2 separate regions of the Homo sapiens genome follow, and region 2 is linked to region 1. Evidence: promoter capture Hi-C in 16 types of primary human blood cells and fetal thymus (Javierre and others, 2016). All regions are on one chromosome and are shown on one strand. Each heading gives the region's core, a stretch centred on a gene start or on the middle of the fragment in contact. The rest is flanking DNA. Distances are from core to core; before and after follow the strand shown. Region 1 holds the start of LINC00921 (long intergenic non-protein coding RNA 921). Region 2 holds the start of C16orf90 (chromosome 16 open reading frame 90).

Region 1 (6,694 bases), core at 3,696-6,195:
GCTGGGTGTGGTGGCACACACTGGTGGTCCCTGCTGCTACTCAGGAGGCTGAGGTGGGAAGATTGCTTGAGCCTAGGTTCAGGCTGCAATGAGCTGTGATTGCACCACTGCTCTCCAGCCTGGGTGACACAGCAAGACACCCTGTCTCAAAAAAAAAAAAAAAAAAAAAAAAAAAAAGTGGATGAAATGCACATTGATGGTGCAGACAGCAGATTTTTGGAATTTTTAGGCTGGGCCAGAAGAAGGGTGTTGAATGGGGTATCACTGGGGCCAGCACCCGTCCCTGACTCTGGACGGTGGCAACCCAGCACCTCCCAGGCAGTCTCCCACTACCAGATGGAGAAAGGATGAGACTGTGCAGTGACGCTGTGGGTGCTGTGTGATCCCATCTCGTCTGGTCAGAAAACTCCTCGGAGCTGATACCAAAACCCCATGACAGAATTGGGCAGGGAATGATACTTTCTGGTCTAAAGCAGGATATTTTGCAATTGCGGTGACACGTTTTGCAACAGAGGCTGCTCTGAGGCAGGACTTCTGGAAGGCAGTGTTTTGATGCCACTTTGGACTTTCTAGGGCAAGGCAGGCTCACAAAGCTTTTGTTTGGAGGGGTTCCAGTAATTTCTCACAGTGAAAATAGAATTATTGCCCTTCTAACGTCATTTAAGTGTTTAATAATCAAAGTGGAATGGTCATGGGCTGTCTTGTGTGCCCCTGCCATTGGATGTGTGACCTTATTTGGGGTGACATGGCAAATCTAAACCCAACAAAGCTGCTGCAAAGGGTCTACTCTCGGCTATTACTCCTGGGAAATGTGCGGCTCAGACACCACGACCTTCACTCCACTCCTGGTCACCAGGGGTTTCACTTTCTATGGCATTTACTTCTGCACATTTTGGGATTTAAAAAAATGAAGATTGTATTACTTTCGTAATAAGCAAAAAAGATAGTTTTAAAAAGTCTTTCAGACCAGGTGTGGTGGCGCACGCCTGTAATTTCAACACTTTGGAAGGCCGAGACAGGTGGATCACTTGAGGTCAGGAGTTCCAGACCAGCCTGGCCAACACGGCAAAACCTCGTCTCTAATGAAAATACAAAAATTAGCCAGGTGAGGTGGCCCGCGCCTGTAATCCCAGGTACTCCGGAGGCTGAGGTAGAACTGCTTGAACCTGGGAGGTGGAGGTTTCAGTGAGTCGAGATTGCATCACTGCACTCCAGGTTGGGCAACAGAGCAAGATTCCGTATTTAAAAAAAAAAAAAGTCTTTCACAATTAGCTTAACTTCTAAGGGAGTATCAGTCCCGTGCCCCTAAACCATCATGATAAAGGAGGTATATAGTATTTACTTATTTATTTACTTGATTTATTTTGAGACAGAGTCTCACTCTTATCACCTGGGCTGGAGTGCAGTGGCAAGATCATGGCCCACTGCAACCTCCGCCTCCCGGGTTCAAGCGATTCTCCTGCCTCTGCCTCCCGAGTAGCTGGCATTACAGGTGCCCGCCATTACACCCAGCTAATTTTTTGTATTTTTAGTAGAGACGGGGTTTCACCATGTTGGCCAGGCTGGTCTTGAACTCCTGACCTTGTGATTCGCCCGCCTCAGCCTCCCAAAGTTCTGGGATTACAGGCGTGCGCCACCGTGACCAGCCAACTATTTTTTCATAGATGATGAAATGTAGGCTTACAGGTAGGGTGACCAACACATTTTGTCTAGGAGCAAAACCCAATTTGCCCAGTCTTAGCACTGAAAGCCTAGTTCTGGGAACGACCACAGTCCGGGGAAATTGGGACAATTGCCCACCCTGTTTAGATGGGTTAATTGACATACTGAACACATGTCTAGCTAGGAAGAGGCACCACAGGGCCATTCATTTACTCTTGGAGCACCTGCTGTATGCCAGATGCTATTCTAGGTACTACTGATACAGAACTGAACAGAAAAAAACTTCTTGCAGTGCTCACATTCTTTTTTTTCTGATATAAATGCCCTTCAGAAGAGGCCACATTCTTTTTTTTTTTTCGAGATGGAATTTCACTCAGTCGCCCAGGCTGGAGGGCAGTAGCGCAATCTCGCCACTGCAACCTCTGCCTCCAGTGTTTGAGCGATCCTCCTGCCTCAGCGTCCCAAGTAGTTGGGATTATAGGTACCGACAACCACGCCTGGCTAATTTTTGTATTTTTAGTAGAGACGGGGTTTCACCATGTTGGCCAGGCTGGTCTTAAACTCCCGGCCTCAAGTGATTTACCCACCTCGGCCTCCCAAAGTGCTGGGATTACAGGCGTGAGCTGCTGCGCCTGGCTCAGAAGATCCCGCATTTTTTTTTTTTTGACGGAGTCTAGCTATATTGCCCAGGCTGGAGTGCAGTGGTGCTATCTCAGCTCACTGCAAGCTCCACCTCCCGGGTTCACGCCATCCTCCTGCCTCAGCCTCCCGAGTAGCTGGAACTACAGGCGCCTGCCACCACGCCCGGCTAATTTTTGTATTTTTAGTAGAGACGGGGTTTCACCGTGTTAGCCAGGATGGTCTCGATCTCCTGACCTTGTGATCTGCCCACCTCGGCCTCCCAAAGTGCTGGGATTACAGGCATGAGCCACTGCGCCCAGCCAAGAGCCCACATTCTTATAGGAAAGTGTGAATTGATATAAACAAACAAATACACAATGTATCAGGGAGTGATAAGTTGGGGGAAAAAACAGCAGAATAATAGGGTTAGTGAGTGCAGGGGATTGGTTTCATATTTTTTTATTTTTATTTATTTATTTAGAGACAGAGTCTCACTCTGTCACCCAGGCTGGAGTGCAGTGGTGCTATCTTGGCTCACTGCAACTTCTGCCTCCCGGGTTCAAGCAATTCTCCTGCCTCAGCCTCCCAAGTAGTTGGGATTACAGGCTCACACCACCATGCCAGGCTAATTTTTGTATTTTTAGTAAAGACGGGGTTTCACCATGTTGGCCAGGCCAGTCTCAAACAACTGACCTCAAGTGATCCAACCGCCTTGGCCTCCCAAAGTGCTGTGATTACAGGCATGAGCCACCGTGCCCCCTGGTTTCATATTTTAATAGGGCACTTGAAGAAGGCTTTTGTGCTTGAACAGAGACCCAAAGGAAGAGGAGTAAGCCAGGTATTCATTTTGAGGATGAGCAGTCTTTGCCTATTTACAGAGTGCAAAAGGGGTAACTTTGTGCTTAGTGTTTGAGGAAGAGTGGTGGCTGGAGCAGAGGCACGGAGGAGGAGTGGATGGAGGGGTTAGAGAGGGAGCTGGAGTCCCCTATCAAGTAGCAGGGCTCCCAGGACACAGCAAGGACTTGGCTCTTACTCTGAGATGAGGGGACACTGGAAAGTTTGAGCAGAGCAGTGACATAATTGGAGTTACGCTTTAAAAGAAACATTCTGGGCCGGGCGCGGTGGCTCACACATATAATCCAGCACTTTGGGAAGCCAAGGAAGGTGGATCACCTGAGGTCAGAAGTTCGAGATAAGCCTGGCCAACATGGTGAAAGCCCGTCTCTACTGAAAATACAAAAATTTGCTGAGTGTGGTGGTGATGTGCGCGTAGTCCCAGCTACTCTGGAGGCTGAGGTGAATCACCTGAACCTGGGAGGCGGAGGTTGCAGTGACCTGTGATCGCACCACTGTACTCTGGCCTGGGTGAAAGAGTGAGACTGTTTCAAAAAAAGAAAGAAAAGAAAAGAGAACACTCTGGCTTCCATAAGAGACAAGAGATGAGAAAGGTGGAAACAGAGAGGAGAAAGCAATCTATTGTCACAATGCAGGAAAGCGACTGCAGGGCCCTGAACCACTGTGGAGGCAGAAGGGTCAGATTCTGGGTGATTCTGAAAGCAGGGCTGACATGATAAGGGTAGACTGGATACTGGCGGGTGTGAAGATGCATCTAAGATACCTGTTTCTGGCCAGATTTTACAAAGGGCCCTTGTTGCTACCTTAAGGAGTTAGTGTTGAATCCTGCAGCAGCTAAGAGCTTCTGCAGGATCTCCCTCTCAACTTGGACCAACCCACCTGCCGATCCCAGCCCAGATCAATGAGATCTGCTGCCCAGTCCCCTACGCAGATAACACTAATTGTAACTGATCTTTCTGAGGGCACCTCCTGAGCAGCTTGGAAACGGAGGGAGAGGAGAGGAAGCCAGCTTCCCAAAGTGGGGTGTGGCAGGTGGCCTTAACCCTGCTGAAGGGCTGCAGTCATGGGGCTCTGAATAGATCCCCACACCACTCACCAATGAGCTTCATTTGGAAGGCGGTAACGTTAAACAAGAGGGTTTGTAAAAAATAAAGGCCTACACACATAATTTTTTCTGATTATTAAATCTAGGTGGAGAGTACGTGAGTATTCATGTTACTCTCTCAACTTTCTTGTGCTTAAAAATCTTAAAATAAAAACTTTAATACGCTCTGTCCTACCAATATTTATAGGAACCTGACTAGCAGCCAGGCTTTGGACACGCAATCCCCGGCCACCAAAGGGCTGACAGGCTAGTGAAAGGGGCAGAAAAATAACAAAACTGTGTCTGGAAGGCAGCTACTCCCTTTTTTTGTTTGTTTGTTTTTTGAGACGCAGTCTCACTCTGTCGCCCATGCTGGAGTGCAGTGGCGCGATCTTAGCTCACTACATGTGCCTCCGGGGTTCAAGCGATTCTCCTGCCTCAGCCTCCTGAGTAGCTGGGACTACAGGCGCGCGCCACCACGCCCGGCTAATTTTTGTATTTTTTAGTAGAGACAGGGTTTCACCATATTGGTCAGGCTGGTCTCGAACTCCTGACCTCGCGATCCGACCGCCTCGGCCTCCCAAAGTGGTGGGATTACAGGCGTGAGCCACCGCGCCCGGCCCTTTGTTTTCTTACCAACTAAGCAGCAGCACTGACACTGTTTCCTTTGAGGTTCCGTTTGCTGAATCCTGCCCTCTAAGGTGCTCCGCCCTTCCACTCCCCGCCCCGTGCTGCTGTCATTCCCACGCCTCACCCTGTTTTGCAACTTCTTGTTTATGAGCCTGGAAGCCACGAAGTGGTGGGAAATACGAGATTCAAATATCTGGTGGCCGTGTGACGTGAGTAAATTACTCGATTTTTCTCAGTTTCCATTTCCTATCAAATGGGTTGTTCTGGGAATTCGGGGAAGTAACAGTGCCGGGAACCGCGGGAGGAACCGCCAGCTGCGTCCTCGGACGTCCCCAAAGCCCAGGGCGGCGACTGGCACGACTGTCAGGGGCGCGTCTGTTAAGAGGACAGGGGGTCCCGCCCCGGCACAGCCGTCTCCTCCAGGACCCCTCCCGCCGACGCCCCACGGACCCCACGCCCGAGCGGAGACCGGCGCGAGTCCGGGGTCTCCGGTCCGGCAGCCCCTCCCTGGCCCGGCGCCCCAAAGGGAAGCGGCCTGGGGGAGGAGACGTGTGGAAAGAGCGGCAGAAGATAAAGAGGAAGTAGCGGTAGAGAATAAAAAGGAACTGTCCGCAGTGTGCCCGGACGCGGGGAGGCGCTGGGGTCAAGCGAGACCCGACCTGCACGCAATTCCCGCCGGGGTCCCGGCCTGCCTGCGGGAGGGAAAGGACCCAGGGCGGCTTCTGCCAAAAGTGCGGCTTCTGCCGAAAGTGCGTCTTCTGCCGAGGGGCCCACATAAGGCGCGACAGACACTCCAGCCCGACCCCGACGCCCCGCCCTCACGCATGCACATGCGCGGAACACTCCCAGAAACACATCTCCCAGAGCGCCCCGGGAGCACGCGAGCCAATTGGAGGGCGGATTAGCGGGGGCCCACGTCTCCCAGAGGTCTCCGAGTCGCGGCTCTGTTGGTCTGATTGGCAGCCGCAACAGCCTATAGCTGCTTTTCGCCGGAGGGGCCACGCGCCGTTTGCCGGGACTGAGCCGCTGTTGTCGCTGGTATCCCGGGAGCAGCGCCGGCAAGTGGAGTCGTCGTATTCCGGGCGGCCCGCGGCCCACGGGGATGGGACGTCCCGGGGCTGTGCTGACCCCAAAACCCTTCCACACTTTATTAGCCTGTCGCCCTTCTTTCATGTTTACAGCAAATATTTTCCGAGTGCCTAATGTGTCCCACTTACTGTGCCACGTGCGAGGGTGCACGTGTCAGGCAAGATCGCTGTTCCAAGGAGGCTGAGAACAAGTAAATGGTAATTACCAGTTATGACCAAAGCTGTGAAAGGAACAGATACATCAGCCTAACAGCAGCACTGCCGTTTTCTCCCTTATAATCAGCAGAGGCGGGCTAGAGCAAGGATTCTCAAACTCTGCCCCCTCAGAACCCTAGAGTACGGTTGCTGAAACTTCTGTTTTTTCCTTTTGAACAAATCTAGTAACATGCTGTGAGCCAGAGAGGTAATGGTTTGGCTCAAAGAAGGCACATGCATCTGGTTTCTTTCTTCTTTTTTGAGACGGAGTCTCGCTCTGTCGTCCAGGCTGGAGTGCAGTGGCGCCATCTCCGCTCACTGCAAGCTCCGCCTCGCGAGTTCACGCCAGTCTCCTGCCTCAGCCTTCCGAGTAGCTGGGATTACAGGCGCCCGCCACCACGCCCGGCTAATTTTCACGCCCGGCTAATTTTTTGTATTTTTAGTAGAGACGGGGTTTCACCATGTTAGCCAGGATGGTCTCGCTCTCCTGACCTCGTGATCCGCCCGCTTCGGCCTCCCAAAGTGCTGGGATTACAGGCGTGAGCCACCGCGCCCGGCC
Region 2 (7,147 bases), core at 3,859-6,358, 230 kb after region 1:
AGAGCTGTGGGCTCCCCGGCCTCTCAGGGAGGCGGTGGCGGGGGGGCCTGATTCTGCACTCAGCCCGGCCTCCCAGGTACAAGTGGCTGACTGGAGTCTAAGCAGGCTGCAAGGGCACGGCCATGCTTCTATTGCTTCTGCCCCTCCCTCGGAACCTCCTCCTCCTCCCTCTCCCCATCACATTCTCCCGAGGCCCAGGCCTGGGCGCTGGGCCGCTGCCTGGGCCACCCCATGTGGCAGGGCCACTGCCGGGGGCCGAGCCCCTCCTGCTCAGGCTGCCTCCTCGGCCATCCTGCCCCTCCTGTACCCAGTCCTGGCACTCGGGATCCCTATGGCCTCTCCAGGGCCCCAGAGCGGGTTCTCTTGCACAAGGGACACATGGCCTCTTCCCAGGTCCCCCAGGACCTCTTGGGCCTGAGCCTAGAAGGACTAGGCTGGGGGAGGGCACCCTTGTCTGGGTCCATGCTGGAACTGGAAGCTGAGGAAAGAGGAGAGAAAGGAGTCACTTGAGGGACCCAAGGGGAGGCTGGGGGGGAGGCTGGCAGCCCACCCTGGGGTTTCCAGAATCCGATATTCTTGAAAACAGAAGGGAGGAGGGCAATGCTTCCTCCTTAACAGAATCCCCAGGGGAGGGAGGAGGTTGAGGGAACAGAATGGTTCAAGCTGGAAGGACCCTCATCTAACCTGAACCCTCATTTTACAAGTGAGAAAACTGAGGCCCAGCAAGGGAGACAGATTCCAAGGCCCCTCACCGAGTGTGGAGCTGGGGCAGTCACCCAGCCCTCCCTCCCAGATCCTCCCTTTTTCTCGCACCGCTTTGTCCCTGGTGGATTCTCCAGACCCCGCTTAGCTGTGCGTGATGCAGAGATGGGGACAGATTCATCAAGATCTTGGCCTTCTGGGGCATGGTGCCACTGTGGAGGCTTGGGAGTGGAGAAGGGCCCGCCTGAGGCCCCAGCCCAACCATCCCCTAGGGTCTTCCCCCGTGCCCAGTCCTGCCTTGACAGAGCTCACCACTGCTTCCCAGGCTGTCCCTGGGCAATCGGGCTTCCAGAAGGGCTGAACAGAGGCTGTTACGTGGGCCCAGAGTCCCCTGTGGCAGGTCCAGGGCCCAGGCTGTGCCCTCAGGCTGTGGCAGGCAGCCCCCAGCCATAAGCCGGCCCAGCCAGTGGCTCTCACACTGGCCAGTGGGTGGCGGGTGGCTCTCCAGGTAGAGGCCCAGGCCCCGGAGGTGGCGCAGCCGGAAGTTCTTGGGCTTGCTTCCCTGGGCACTGGGGCACTGCGGCTGCGGGGACCCCAGGCCCCCCTCGTAGATGTTGGGGGGTGCGTCAGGGTGGCCGGGGCGTCCTTGGGCCTGGCTCACTGCATCTGCAGAGGAGACAGCGGGAGGGTGGTGGCCAGCCCCCCACAGCAGCCATGAGGGGAGGGTGCAGTCACATACCTCTGAGACCAGCTCACATGATGGGCTACACCCCCAGCCAACCTGGCCTCAGTTTACCTGTGTGTCAAATAGTCTCAGTCCACTGCCTCCCCTGCCCATGCCCAAGACACGACTCCTCTTCCCACTCCCAACCAACAGGGAGGCCTGGGAAGCCTCGGGCCTTGGTACTAAGAGTGCTTTCAGGACCTCAAGTCCTTTCTACTACCCTGTTCTGCCCGCTACCCTAGGAAGAGTATTCTGGTCCCCACAGAGAAATTGCACAGTGGGTTTGAGAGAAAGTGGCCAGCCCAGGGGCTCATGGCCTGGCCCAGTGGCCATTCCCCTCTCCCAAGCATACATGTCCCTGAGGCCACCCCTCGGCTTTGGGCCCAGGTGGGGACAGAAGCCTATCTCTCTTCCTGCCACTCCTCCCCACAGCCCGGCACCTTCTCTTATGTGCAGCTCAGAAAATGCACAGACCAAGGCTTCCATGGAGGGCCAGTGTGGTGGGGAGGAGCAACCAGGACTTGGGTGCAGCAGGGCCCTGCTCTCCCCTGCCTAGGGGGTACATTGGCAGGTCTCCCCTGGCAACTGGTTCTTATGACATCACGGGGAAGACTCCCAGCCTTCCTGGACCCCTAGTTTGGGAGAGGACAGTGCCCAAGGCAAGGGCAGGGTGAAAGAAAGGCATGGGAAGGGGCCAGAACCCTGGGGGAAGTCCCTGGTCCCTCTGGCTGGGGTCAGGCCACATAAAACAGACAGCTCTGGCAAACTGGAGAGTCCTTCTCTCAGGTGATCTCTTGGGGCCAGCTTCCTCATCTGGGGTGGGAAATGAGGGTTCAGGAGTACAGACCTAGGAAGACCTAGGTCGGTACTTTGAAAATGCTGAAAAGGGGCTGGGGGCGGTGGCTCATGCCTGTAATCCCAGCACTGTGGGAGGCCGAGGCAGGCTGATCAGTTGAGGTCTGTGGGAGGCCGGGGTGGGCGGATCATGAGGTCAGGAGATCGAGACCATCCTGGCTAACACGGTGAAACCCCGTCTCTACTAAAAATACAAAAAAATTAGCCGGGCGTCGTGGCGGGAGCCTGTAGTCCCAGTTACTCAGGAGGCTGAGGCAGGAGAATGGCGTGAACCCGGGAGGCGAAGCTTGCAGTGAGCCCAGATCGCGCCACTGCACTCCAGCCTGGGCTGCAGAGCGAGACTCCGTCTCAAAAAAAAAAAAAAGTTAAACATTCATCTTTCCGGACCTGGCCAAGCAGGAAGCGCCATCATGGGAGCTGACGTCCGCCACAAGAAGGACCTAAAGGTTCGGCGCAAAGAGCCCAAGAGCCAGGATATCTAACTGAGGCTGTTTGTTGGTCAAGCTGTACAGGTTACCGTCCAGACGAACTAACTCCACATTCAACCAGGTTGTGCTGAAGAGGTTGTTTATGAGTCGCACCAACCGGCCACCTCTGTCCGTTTCCCGGATGATCCGGAAGATGAAGCTTCCTGGCTGGGAAAACAAAACGGCCGTGGTTGTGGGGACGCTTAACGGATGACGCGAGGGTTCAGGAGGTGCCCAAACTTAAGGTGTGTGCGCTGCCCGTGACCAGCCGGCCCACAGCGGCATCCTCAGGGTGGGGGCCAAGATCCTGACTTTCGATCAGCTGGCCCTGGACTCCCTCAAGGACGGCGGCCCCGTCCTACTCTCCGGTCTTCGCAAGGGCCGACAGGTGTACCGGCATTTCGGCAAGGCCCTGGGAACCCCACACAGCCACACCAAACGCTATTTCCGCTCCAGGGACCAGAAGTTCGAGCGCGCCAGAGGCCTACGGGCCAGCCGAGGCTACAAAAACGAACCCTCTTATTAAAAAGATTTTGGATGCTGACAAAAAAACAAAAAGTTAAAACATTCAATTTTCTCTTGTCACAGACGACCTGATTTTTCTTTTTTTCTTTTCTTTTTTTTTTTTTTTAAGATGGAGTCTCACTTTGGCGCCCAGGCTGGAGTGCAGTGGCGCGATCTCGGTTCACTGCAACCTCCGCCTCCCGAGTTCAAGAGCTTCTCCTGCCTCGGCCTCCCCAGCAGGTGGGATTACAGGCACCCACCACCACGCCCAACGGATCTTTGTATTTTTAGTAGAGACAGGCTTTCGCCATGTTGGCCAGGCTGGTCTCAAACTCCTGACGTCAGGTGATCCGCCCACCTCGGCCTCCCAAAGTGCTGGGATTACAGGCATGACCCACCGCGCCCAGCAACCTGATCTTGTATGTAGGAAATATTAAATAATTCATACTTGAAAAAAAAAAATCCTGAACCTAGTAGAGCTTTTTCAGAGCTAATGAAGTTCAGAAAAATCTCAAGTCATAAAATCACCACACAAAAATTAATTGTATTTCTAGATACTAGCAAAGAATAAAAAGAATAAAATAGGAATACATTTAACCAAGGAGGTATAAGACAACTCTGAATACTATAAAACATTGCTGAGAGAATCTAAAGACTTAAATAAATTGGAAAGCATCACATGTTCATGGACTGAAGACTTAATATTGTTAAGATAGCAACACTCCCCAAAGTGCTCAGTACAATTCTTATCAAAATCAAAATGGCCTTCATGTAGTGTATTAGGCTTCTCCAGAGAAATATAGTCAGCAGAATGTATATAGATATTTACAGAGAAAATATTTATTAGAGGATAAATAAATCTCCTTATATAATTTTTTCTGAGATAGGGCCTTGCTCCATTGCCCAGGCTGAAGTACAGTGACATGATCACGGCTCACTGCAACCTCAACTTACCAGGCTCAGGCAATCCTCCCACCTTAGCCTCCCAAGTAGCTGGGACTACAGGTGTGCACCACCAGGCCTGGCTAATTTTTTAATTTATTTTCATTTTTTAATTTTTAATTTTTTAAATTTTTGCTGATGGAGATCTCACCATGTTGCCCAGAGCTAGTCTTGAACTCCTGGGCTCAAGTGATCCTCCTGCCTCCACCTCCCAAAGTGCTGGGGTGATAGGTGTGAGCCGCCGTGCCCAGCCAAGAGAAGATTTATTAGGGATATTGGCTTATGTGATTATCCGGGCTGAGAAGTCGCACAATATGCTGCCTGCAAGCTGGAGAACCAGGAAAACTGGTGCTGTAATTAAGTCTGGGTTCAAAAGCATGAGAATCTGGGTAGGGGTGGGGGTGAGGGCTGGTGTAAGTCCTGGTGTCCAGAAGTCCAAGAACCAGGAGCTCCAATGTCCAAGGGCACGGGAAGAAGGATGTCCCAGCCCATGAAGAGAGTGTGAATTCACCCCTCCTCTGCATTTTTGTCATAATTGGGCACCCAGCAGATTGGATGATGCCCACCACACTGGTGAGGGCAATCTTCTTTTTTTTTACTCAGTCTAGCAATTCAAATGCTAATCTCTTCTGGAAACGCTTACACAAGCACACTGAAAAATAATGTTTTACCAGCTATCAGGCATCCCAGTCAAGTTGACACACAAAATTAAGCATCACAAGCAGAAATGGAAAAGCTAATCCTAAAATTCATGTGAAATTACAAGGGAGCCCAAATAACCACAACAATCTTGGAAAAGCAAATCTTCAGAAATCAGAAACACGGCTGGGCATGGTGGCTCACACCTGTAATCCCAGCACTTTGGGACACTCAGGTGGTCAGATCACCTGAGGTCAAGAGTTTGTGACCAGCCTGGCCAACATAGGCGGGCGGATCATGAGGTCGGGAGATCCAGACCATCCTGGCAAACACGGTGAAAGCCCGTCTCTACTAAAAATACAAAAAAATTAGCCGGGTGTGGTGGTGGGCGCCTGTAGTCCCAGCTACTTGGGAGGCCGAGGCAGGAGAATGGCGTAAACCCAGGAGGCAGAGCTTGCAGTGAGCCGAGATCGCACCACTGGCACTCCAGACTGGGTAACAGAGCGAGACTCCATCTCAAAAAACAAACAAACAAACAAACAAACAACAACAACAAAAAAAAGTGAAAAGACAACCTATGAAATGGAAGAAAATATTGGCAAATCATATATCTGATAAGGGTCTCATAGGCAGAATATATAAAGAACACTTACAATTCAAAAACAAAAGGATGTTCAACCCAATTTTGAAATGGGCAAAGAAAATGAATAGACATTTTTCCAATGGAAATATACAAATGGTCATCAAACACGTAAAAAGATGTTCAACATCTTTAATCATCAGGGAAATGCAGGCCGCGTGCGGTGACTCACGCCAACATGGCGAAACTCCGTCTCTACCCAAAATACAAAAATTAGCTGGGCGCGGTGGCGCGCGTCTGTAATCCCAGCTCCTCCGGAGGCTGAGGCAGGAAAATCGCTTGAACCCTGGAGGCGGAGGTTTCAGTGAGCCGAGATTGTGCCACTGCACTCCAGCCTGGGCAACAAGAGCAAGAGTCCATCTCAAAAAAAAAAGTTCAAGTTGATCAACATCCTTTCAAGCCCTTGGCATTGTCAAGAGTTTTTTGTTGTTTTAGCCATTTTATCTAGATTTAATTTTTAGGTTTTTAACGTGTTACCTGATATTTTAGCCAGTTTAATAACTTCATAGTGATATCTCATTGTGGTTTTAATATGCACTTCTCTAATAATAGCCTTGATCATCTCTTCATTTGCATATTAGCCATCCATATATCTTCTTTTGTGAAGTAGCTTTTAAAATGTTTTCTCCATTCTCTAATTAGACTGTTTCTCATTATTGAGTGTTGAGAGTTCTTGATACATTCTGGATACACGTCTCTTTATCAGATATGTGTTTTGTGCATATTTTCTTCTAGACTGTGGCTTATCTTTTGTTTTTCTTAATAACACGTGAAGCAACATTTATGGGAGGCCATTGTTTTGGAGCGAGCTCCTGCACAAGGTACCAACGGACCAGACCAAACCAGAATGGAATCGCTAGTGCAAGGTGCCACGTAATCAATGCGAACTTAGAGACAGGCCAGTCTGCCAAAACACAGAAGATTCACTGCAACCAACAAAAGGGGCCCTGTCCACCTAGGCTGGCATAAGGAAGCCCCCTCTGCTTTAACCCAAAGAAATGCATCTGAAATAACCTGATGCCAACCAATCGCTTTGTGCACTACGCTGTTTCCTTGTTCCTGCTCAAGCTACCTTACAAAACCCGGCTGCTGTGCCACGCCTGGCGGGGCATCTCCCCATTTCACACGTGGAGGCCGCCCCTTCCTGCCGTCTCCTCGCGCCCCCATGCAGAGGCTAGGGCTGCCGGGACCCGCGCGGCGCGAGCGGCTCAGGGCCCCTTTCCGGCCTGTTGTGCAGCCCGAGCCGTCTGCGCGTGCGCGAGACCGAGGCCTGGCCTGCCTCTGGGCGCCCACAGTGATCCCGTCCTCCGCTCGGCAACCAGATTCCGACGAGGAGCGCGCTGTGCCTCGGACGGGGGAAGGCGGGCTTCCTGAGTATAGTGCATTTTTTTTTTTTTTTTTTTTTTGAGACAGAGTCTCGCTCTGTCGCCAGGCCGAAGGGCAGTGGCGCGATCTCGGCTCACTGCAACCTCTGCCTGCCGGGTTCAAGTAATTCTTCTGCCTCAGCCTCCCGAGTAGCTGGGATTACAGGTGTGCGCCACCACGCTTGGCAAATTTTTGTATTTTTTGGTAGAGACGGGGTTTCGCCATGTTGGCCAGGCTGGTCTCGAACTCCTGACCTCAAGTGATCCGCCCGCCTCGGCATCCCAAAGTGCTGGGATTGTAGGCGTGAGC

Evidence for each region. The method cuts DNA at HindIII sites, captures the fragments that hold promoters and counts their contacts. A CHiCAGO score of 5 or more calls a contact.
Region 2: a contact is called between a fragment that was not itself captured here and the fragment with the promoter of LINC00921 in region 1, in 15 of 17 cell types (megakaryocytes, erythroblasts, naive CD4 T cells and 12 more). The highest score is 8.1, in megakaryocytes.

Annotation. Positions count from the first base shown.
Region 1 is chr16:3,258,823-3,265,516 of GRCh38, forward strand. LINC00921 (long intergenic non-protein coding RNA 921) reads left to right here and starts at 4,946. Exons shown (of 2, transcript NR_033904.1): 1 at 4,946-6,694. RefSeq lists enhancers at 5,007-5,166, 5,607-5,706, 5,857-5,926 and a silencer at 5,187-5,366. The HindIII fragment of the contact is 6,272 bases long and covers 592-6,694 here.
Region 2 is chr16:3,493,510-3,500,656 of GRCh38, forward strand. C16orf90 (chromosome 16 open reading frame 90) reads right to left here and starts at 1,980. Exons shown (of 3, transcript NM_001080524.2): 1 at 1,867-1,980; 2 at 1,015-1,368; 3 at 1-478. The coding sequence starts at 1,912. The coding sequence ends at 330. It also overlaps a transcript of CLUAP1 not described here and the pseudogene RPL18P12. The HindIII fragment of the contact is 4,404 bases long and covers 2,907-7,147 here.